Regions from separate parts of the Homo sapiens genome. Here regions 1 and 3 are each linked to region 2. The links are contacts of gene promoters, found by promoter capture Hi-C in human tissues and cell types (Jung and others, 2019). All regions are on one chromosome and are shown on one strand. Each heading gives the region's core, a stretch centred on a gene start or on the middle of the fragment in contact. The rest is flanking DNA. Distances are from core to core; before and after follow the strand shown. Region 1 overlaps CSMD1 (CUB and Sushi multiple domains 1). Region 2 holds the start of CSMD1 (CUB and Sushi multiple domains 1). Region 3 has its middle 270 kb from the start of MCPH1-DT.

Evidence for each region. The method cuts DNA at HindIII sites, captures the fragments that hold promoters and counts their contacts. A contact is called where the count stands out against the background at its distance.
Region 1: a contact is called between a fragment that was not itself captured here and the fragment with the promoter of CSMD1 in region 2, in 1 of the 25 tissues and cell types used here (dorsolateral prefrontal cortex).
Region 3: a fragment that was not itself captured here is called in contact with the fragment with the promoter of CSMD1 in region 2 in 1 of the 25 tissues and cell types used here (dorsolateral prefrontal cortex).

The regions. Positions count from the first base shown.
Region 1 is chr8:3,599,616-3,602,382 of GRCh38, forward strand. All of the region lies in intron 8 of CSMD1 (CUB and Sushi multiple domains 1), which reads right to left. Among named protein-coding and RNA genes, the nearest start is that of LINC03021, 870 kb to the left of the region's middle. The HindIII fragment of the contact is 6,155 bases long and covers 1-2,767 here.
Region 2 is chr8:4,993,538-4,996,237 of GRCh38, forward strand. CSMD1 (CUB and Sushi multiple domains 1) reads right to left here and starts at 1,377. Exons shown (of 70, transcript NM_033225.6): 1 at 795-1,377. The coding sequence starts at 879. The HindIII fragment of the contact is 12,651 bases long and covers 1-2,700 here.
Region 3 is chr8:6,134,263-6,136,962 of GRCh38, forward strand. No RefSeq gene overlaps it. Among named protein-coding and RNA genes, the nearest start is that of MCPH1-DT, 270 kb to the right of the region's middle. The HindIII fragment of the contact is 5,310 bases long and covers 1-2,700 here.

The sequences.
Region 1 (2,767 bases), core at 153-2,652, 1.4 Mb before region 2:
GCTATACATCAGATCCCTAGGTTTATTCATCCTATGTAACTGCAGCTTTATGCCTTTAACAACATCTCCATTTTCCTTTGAGTATCTGCTGCATGCCCAGATTGGCGCCAACCTATACCTTGCACTCCTCTCTTCTTTCACCAGGTGGTCCTTCCCGCTTGGCATGGGCAACTCCCACTTCTTTCCTCCTGTCTTTCATCAAAATCTGCTGGGAGCAACAGATCTGACAAATTCTTTCATACACAAGAAAGTGTAATGGAGTGAGATGGTTGACTACCTTCCCCTTCCAGAGGAAGCAACATTTCGGCACAGCAGGACGTCTTAAAGCAAAGTGTCGGTCTCTACAATTCATTGATGGCAAGCTCCTGGCAGCATCATTGTGAGGGCAGGGAAAATGACCACCACAAGAGGCACCTCCTCAGCTCATCACTAAGGGTAGAGCTGGTTCTGAATGCTTGCTGAACACTTAAGAAAAGTCTAGCAGGTAAAGAGAGCGAGGAATTAATTTAAGACACACACACACATAACTGCAGGTGGCATCAGCAAGCTGAAAACTGACAAACCATTGCTTCCCGAATCTTTCCAGGTATCTGTCTGTCTTTCTCCTTTTCTCCTTCTCCTCCCCATTAGTATAAATAGGAAGCTTAGGTAAAATTCCTCATAAAATTTAGAATTTGGTGCCAAAGGGCATTTAATGCTGTTGAAGGGTGGAGTGGGTGGATTTATTACCTTTAGATCCTAGTTAAATTGATAAACCATCTAACTAGCTACTCTATTTCCCCTAGAATATGAATACAGAAACTTAAGAGGTCTCTAAACCAGCAGTTCTCAGCAAGGGTCAAGTGTATCAGAATCATTCAGGGTTGATTGGAAAAGGGACGCCAAGTGTCAAAGACTACCACTCAGAGACTATGAAATGTCATCCTGGGGATAGGGTGCTCCCATTTACTCACCCAGCTTGCCAGTATATTCTCTACGATGGCAAGCAAGTATTATTGCTGGTGGCAGTGGAAAACGACTGGTGACCCCAGATGATAAGAGACAGAAAACCATTGCTCTGGTCTAAAGCGAAAGTCTGCAGGGGCGGTAATTTTACTGAGGGATCCAGGCACCCACCTCTATCCCCACTCTATCACAGGATTCAGTCATAAATAGCAGTCATTGTTCTTCCATGAATGTTTTGTAACATTCATATGCATGTTTTGCAACATTCATATGCATGTTTTGCAATATTGCAAACACAGTATTTTATTAATTAAATAAATGATTTCAATACAATAAAAAAATGGTTTTGCTATGTGATTGAAAATGTGGATAGAGAGGAAGGAATTGATTGCAATGTCAAGAAATGTAAAGAACTATTCCAAGGGGGTCTCTGTACTAATCTCTATGTGCAAGAATCAGCTATGATTGGACATTTTTCATTCATCCCGCATGATATCGTGGCAGCAAGCTTGATACCAGGTCATACATGCTAGAAACCTCCATGACTCCTGTATATCACTGCTAGATGTAGGTTTGCCTCTGGCTTCTGAGATCTACCAGTGCTGCATCATTGTGTCCGTGGGATTCCTGTTCATGGGAGCTGCTCATTGGCCTCACATCTTTATTATTTTTCCAAGAACATTATTTGATGGAGGCCAAGATTTGGTAGGATTTTTGCTGCGGGGAAACAAATCAGCTGTCCTTATTCTTCCAGCTTCTGCAGACATATAGGAGCTGTAGAAGGCAGCAGATACTGAAAGTGTTTTCCAACGATGAGGTTTCCATATACATTATCAGACGATGTTTATGCTATCAAACAGGTTTAGAAAAGCAAGCCCATCTGTATTTAGTCACCTATCTCTAATCTCATATCACGGATGACATACACCAGGCAGGCCAATGGTTACCAACCTCGCTTGCACATCAGAATCACAGCAGGCACTTATAAAAGGTCTAACATTGAGTTACCTACACTAGTCACCACAATCTACTGTAGAATAAGATGCTGCAAAATTTTCATGGCTCTGTTCAGCAGCGTCAACAAACTTTAAGGCTAATGGAAGCCTGTGAAATCATTGGTAATATGCAGAAGAGTTATCAACTATAGGAACAATATTAAAGCAGTGAACATTGAATAACAACCAGTGCATTGATTTGGGGACCATTCTCCCTGCTCCCTAATGTTTCCAATTCGTTTAAAAACTCTTCAGAATCTCAAATGATTCATTCTGTTTCCCCCTACGTCTTCACCAGAAATGTGTTGAAGCAAAGGAGAGAGTTAGTGTTCACAGATCTGCCCTAGAGAGAGAGAGGGTTATAGCACATTCTGTCTATAGTGATCACGTTCCCAGGAACAGGAAGTACAATGGTGGCTGTCGGGAGATGTGGGTAGGGGAGGATGGGAAGTTATGGCTTTATGGGTATGGAGTTTCAGTTTTGCAGGATAAAAAGAATTCTGGAGATGGATGGTGGTCATGGTTATACAACCATATGAATGTGTTAACACCATTGAACTGCACACTTAAAATGGTCAGGATGCTAAATTCTATATTATGTGGATTTTATCACAATTAAACATTCTCTTTAAAAATCTTCATGACTGGTCCATCTTCCTGACCAATTAAACCAGAACCTTCGGGGTAACTGGAGTGTGTTTAATTGCACAGTTTAGAGTCCCCAGGAAAACCAGATCACTTTCTCTCTAGGGCAGATCAATGAACACTAACTCTCTTCTTTCCTTCAACAAATTTCCGGTGGAGGCATAGAGGAAAGCAAAATGAAT
Region 2 (2,700 bases), core at 127-2,626:
AAACCAAGCTCACAGAGCCCCAAGCCCAGGAGCCACCCAGAGAAACTCCTTCCCCTGACCAGCGTAGAAGGAGGATACCCGTGCGCCCACAGTGAATGTATCTGACTTGGAAGCCGGTCCAGAACTCCTAGCCTGTTTCACGCACCTTGCCAACACCTTACAACTTGCAAGGAGCGAAGTCCGGGGGAGAGGAAAGCGGGGGCGACCTTCTAGAGGCAGCTACTCCTCGCCGGCTGAGGACGTTGGAGAGGGAAGGAGGAGAGGAGGAATGGGGTGTATGGGTGCGAGGAGGCCGGGCCGGCGGAGACCTTTGCCTATTGGTACCAAAACCCCCGTAGAGAGCCCGAACTTTCCAGGCCGGCTTCACCCGGGACGCTTTCCCAGGCGCGTCGGGTCCGGGGAGAAAGTCCTGGGAACTGCCCCTCAGCCACCCCGACCCGTGGAGTCCACGTCTCGGAGGAGGCAACACCGCCCCGGCGGAGCACAGTTCCAGCCCAACTCGTATTGGGTTCCTTTCTCCTTGACACCCTGTACTGCCGAGAAAAAGAGATCTCTCCTGTGAGCCCAAGAGAGGGGGAAGGAATGGCGGGGTGGGGCGGGGGCCCAGGAGGGCTGGGGAGAGCGCGATGGAAGCTCCCTCCCGTGCATCGCGTTCCCCGAGCTTCGGCGATGGAGCAGCGCCGGGCAGAGGCGGCCACTCCGTACCCTGCGGTCCCCAAAACGCACACTCGCGTCCGCACACGGGGCCTCCGAGGGCTCTACCGCCTCCCCGGCCAGGAGCAAGTCCGTCTTACCCTTCGCTGCAGTGAGGAGCCTCGCGCACAGCACCAGCAGCCCGAGAAGCAGGAGCAGCGACTGGAATCTCCTCCACGCAGTCATGTCTGCAGATACTCCACACGCACGCGACACCGATGGCTCCTCCGAGGAAGGCAGGGCTATGAGCGGAGCCAAATAATCACCCGAGGGCAAGGCGAGCCGGAGAGAGAGCCCGGTCCCAAGACCCGCCGCGCATCCGACGCCTCCTGAAGGTCTGGGCGCCCGGCTCGCTTCCCTCTCATAGCATCGGGTCCCGAGCCACTGCAGGGCTGAGCTGCTCCGAGCGCGGAGACCCGGGCTGGCGGGGCCGGGGCCGGGGACGAGCGCCGGCCGAGCCGGGCAGGAAGGCACCAAGGCGGCGAGGCTGCGGGAGGGGGAGAAGCGGGGAGAGGAGCGCGCGCAGCCAGGAGAGACCTGGAGAGGAGGCAGCTGGAGAGAGAGCCAGCGAGTGGGAGATGCGGGGAGGGGGGCGCGGGGGGGAGGAGAGATCCAGTCTAGAGAGAAAAGGCGGAGAGCGCAGAAGAAGGGCTGCTAGTGGCACAAGGAGCCGCTGCCGTGGAGGCTGGACTCAACCATCCTTACCCACAGAGAGGGGACCGAGGCTGGGCACGGCGCAGTCCCAGACAGACAGAGCCCAGCCTCGGGGCCTCGGGCTGCCCGCACCGTGCTGCGCTTCATTCGGCCTCAGCGCAGCAGCGCGCAGGCTGGAGAAAGGAGACTTGTTGGGCGCTCGGGTGGGGGAAGCTCACGCCGCACACCGGGGAGGAACAATGTAATCCGGCAACTCCAGCAAACTGGAGGGTTTCTGCAGGGGCAGAGTCCCGCCTCCATCCTTTGATCTCCCTTCCTTGCTGACCAGAGAGCAGCCCCCTACCTAACTTAGATCAGAAATGCAGGTGGAAAGGGCACAAGCTTCAACTCCAAGGGAGGAATATATTTATACATTTATATATATATATATATGATGATATGTATAATGTTTTGCAAGATGGACTATTTGCAAGGAGTTACACAAATTTACACATTTCCTGACTTTGGATTGTGTTAGATTTAGCCATGCCCAAACTTCAGCTTCAGATAAAACGTGACATGAGGAAGTCTCTAGAATTAATATTATGGTCTGGTTGTGAGAGCCGGCATGTTGGCACAGCTTCTGATGAAACTATATATAAAATTCTGTGGGTTGGGAAGGGACCTTAAAAGAGAAGAGACAGGTTCTCCCTGATTCTGCAAAAGGATGAAGCCCGCAGAGAGAGAACAGTGCTTTAGAATAGCAGTACTTGATACAGTAAACTGGATTTCACCCAGCTCCCCAAATAGAGGAGGCATTCCTGCAGTTCCTGGGGAACGTGTAAGGAGAGACATTTTAGGAGAAGGTGGTCAGTTAATAGAAACACCACGAGTGAGGGCTGGTTTCCATAGAAGGACATTTAAAGGATTCGACATCCTTGACCAAAAAGGTTTAGCCCTTTCAGAGGACAGAACGTGGAAATCCCATACCCTAGTAAGAGAGAATTAGCCTCCAGGCCTGGAACCATTAGAGTATACAACCATCTACCTGCGGTATCCCCACAGCACCGAATGCCTGTGGTGGGAGGGACAGCCCACCGCTTCATCCCACCTGCACTTCCTCTGTCAGTCTTTGAGATTAAATGGGTTGACAGTTTGATAAAGTTTTATATCCCTCCTTCAATTTTCTTAGATTGCTCCTGCCTCTGTGACCTAGTCTACCCTAGAAAGGCATAATGGATCCAGGAAGGACTGCAACCTTGGCATGGAAACACCGAAGCCTGACTTTCTTAGTCTCCCTGCAGCCTAAGGTGCAGGTGGCCACAATTGGGGCCACCTCCACAACCCTTTTCTCCTCGCAGATATATGAGATTT
Region 3 (2,700 bases), core at 50-2,549, 1.1 Mb after region 2:
GGAATAAACTCCAACAGGGAAGAATGTTACGCTGATTCCCAGAGGCTGATACCAGGCATTTCATGCCACTTAAAATCTCTTGGCAAATTCATCTAATTGCAAGGCATTCTCCTTCCCTGCCCGATTCCGTAGCATCTCAGCCTGCAAACACAGACTTACTGAAATAACTACAATGTTTTAACGTGCTTTATGGAGCTACAGAATTTCCCAGTGGGTCAGTAACTGGTGTATATTGCTTTATATTTTAACAATCTTTCCACAGATTCAGAATCAGGAACCAAATGTATTCATCCTGAGGTGATTTGCTTATTGCCTGTGAATGCCTCTTAAACAAGAGCAACAATGCACTTTTCACTGAAACAGGTTTGATTTCAGCGTTCTGGCCAGCGCTTGGAAAAACCCTCCTGCTTCATTCCCAATGCATAAATCTCAGTCCTGCACTCTCCATTTCCATGAAATGAGAAGGGAAGAGGGGAGGAGCTGAGCTTCATTAACAGGTGGCTGGGTTTGGCAGGGGCATTCGGTTGCATTCTTTCATCCTCCCTTTTCCTCACTCAGTTCAAGCTGGTAATCAGGGGGGAAAATTGTTCTAAAATGCAAATGCAGTGCCTGATAGAAGGGGCTGCTGTGAGGAAGATCTCCATGAGAAACACTGCCTCTGCTAAAACAGCAGACCCCCGGTATTGCATCACTCTTCCTTTGAAAGATTCAAGACACACATAACCAGTATGTCTTCGTTAGAATAGAAGCTCTTTCAATGAAATGGTTTGGCTTTAAATCAAGAGTGGCTTTAAAACAGGACTAGATGGCCCCAAATGGAGCTGCTTCACACAACAAGGTGTGTAATAAATAAGGCATGAATGACTGATCCCAGCAGTGCTCCTACCAGCCAGGCGCTGGGTGTTTTGGAGGAGCATTTCTTTGTTAGCATACCCATAAAGCTCATAAAGTTGCCCGGCAGTTTCGCCCCTCTCTTTTTAAAATCCTGTGGGTTTTCTCTGGAGGCAGGCTGAAGTTCAGGAAACATGCATTTGGACCGAGAGTCTCTTCCACAGTCTGATGGCACGCGCCTCAGTGGCATGTCATCTTCATTTCTTTCTTCTCTTCTCTCCCCCTCCTTTGGTTAAGTCTGTCCACTATTTAACACTAAGTTTATGAAAGAGGTACTGGATCACTACGCCTTTCCTCCCTCTAGGAAACCCCTGCTCAGGCATCAGGATCCAGCCTAAACGCAGCGTTTCCCGGCTTTCCCCTCCACTGTTGACTGCCCCTAAACCAAGGAATTGAAGTCAGGAGCCACGGTGCAAGTCAGACATGTGTGTTAGTTATCGGGATGTTCGTGGGGGGGTTCCGCTGTATATGCATAACGTCTAAAATTTGAATTTGAGTTAATATGTCTCACAAGTCTCATGCAAGTGGCCATTCCTCTGACAAAGAAGGTAGTCTAAGTAGAAAGTGTGGTGGAAAACAAGGAGGATACAAACCAGATGGTGGCAGATGGAAGAGAGAAGAGGGAACAGGCCTCAGACTCCTGAGGGCAGAACCACCAAGACGGGAAGTGAGTGGATGTCGTGCATTGAGCGTGGGAGAGCCCAGGTCTCGGACTTGGACAAATGGGTAGGTGCCACAGTGATTCTCTGAGAAAAGGAACAAGGTGGAGTGGATTTGTAGAGGGAATAATGAGTTTTCTTGTATTCAAATTTTTTGGCTTTCATAGAATTCTACTTTCAAATTCTGAGAAGAATGAGGCTGTAAATCATTTCTAAAATTAAAAAATCACAATATAGAGATGGTGCGATTGTGTTTCAAAGCAACCGTTGTCTCTGCCAAGCTGGGGGAGACATTCTTTCAGAGAAGGCGCCTTCTCTGACTCCAGGGCAACTTCGTTCTCTCTCAAGTCACAATCAGGAAAGGGCAGGATTGAGAGCTGGCAGAATGCTGTTTTTGGAACTCTGTGTTACAGACACATTTCTTTCTCCACCAGCTTCCTTTGCTCTGGCTATCACAAGTGCCAGGTGTAGCCTGCTTTCTGAAACTGCAGAGATTTAAAAGAAAGACCCCGTGGCATCTTCCAAGACTGAACACTAGCTGCTCTGAATGCAGCTCTCCCTCAGTCACTCTCAGTCTTGCCCTTCAGGCACTTCAGAGAGCTCCTTCTGGAAGCATTCCATCCCTTTGTTGCTCTCGGCCAAACTTGCCAAACTCGCTTCTTGGCTTGTAAGTGTGTGCTTGTCTCTATGTAGGTGAGTCATGGCCAGCCTGGAGCTTGCCGCCCTCCCCCCGCGCCCCCCCACCACCACCACCCGCACCCCCCGACCCCCACAACTGGTAGGGTGATTGCATTTAACTCATTTCTCACCTAAGTGCAGCCACCCGTCAGGACTCCCATGAATCTACAAGCGGCTTTTCCATCACTTAGGGTACGCAGACAGATTCCTCTTAAAATGCTCCACACAGAACTCACAACGTGATGCCATGAAGTCTGTATTCTGTGATGTCATTACATGTGGAGGGAACAATGGGTGGGCTTGCTTTGTCAGAGTGGGCTTAAAAACTCGAGCTCTAAGGACTGACTCATCAAGACTTAAATCTCCAACTCTTCTGCCTGTCAGTGTGTCAACTTGGGTGGGAAACTTATTGTCTCAACATTTATTTTCTCATCTGCACAGGGAGATTAAAATACTACCAGCCTCAGCCTTA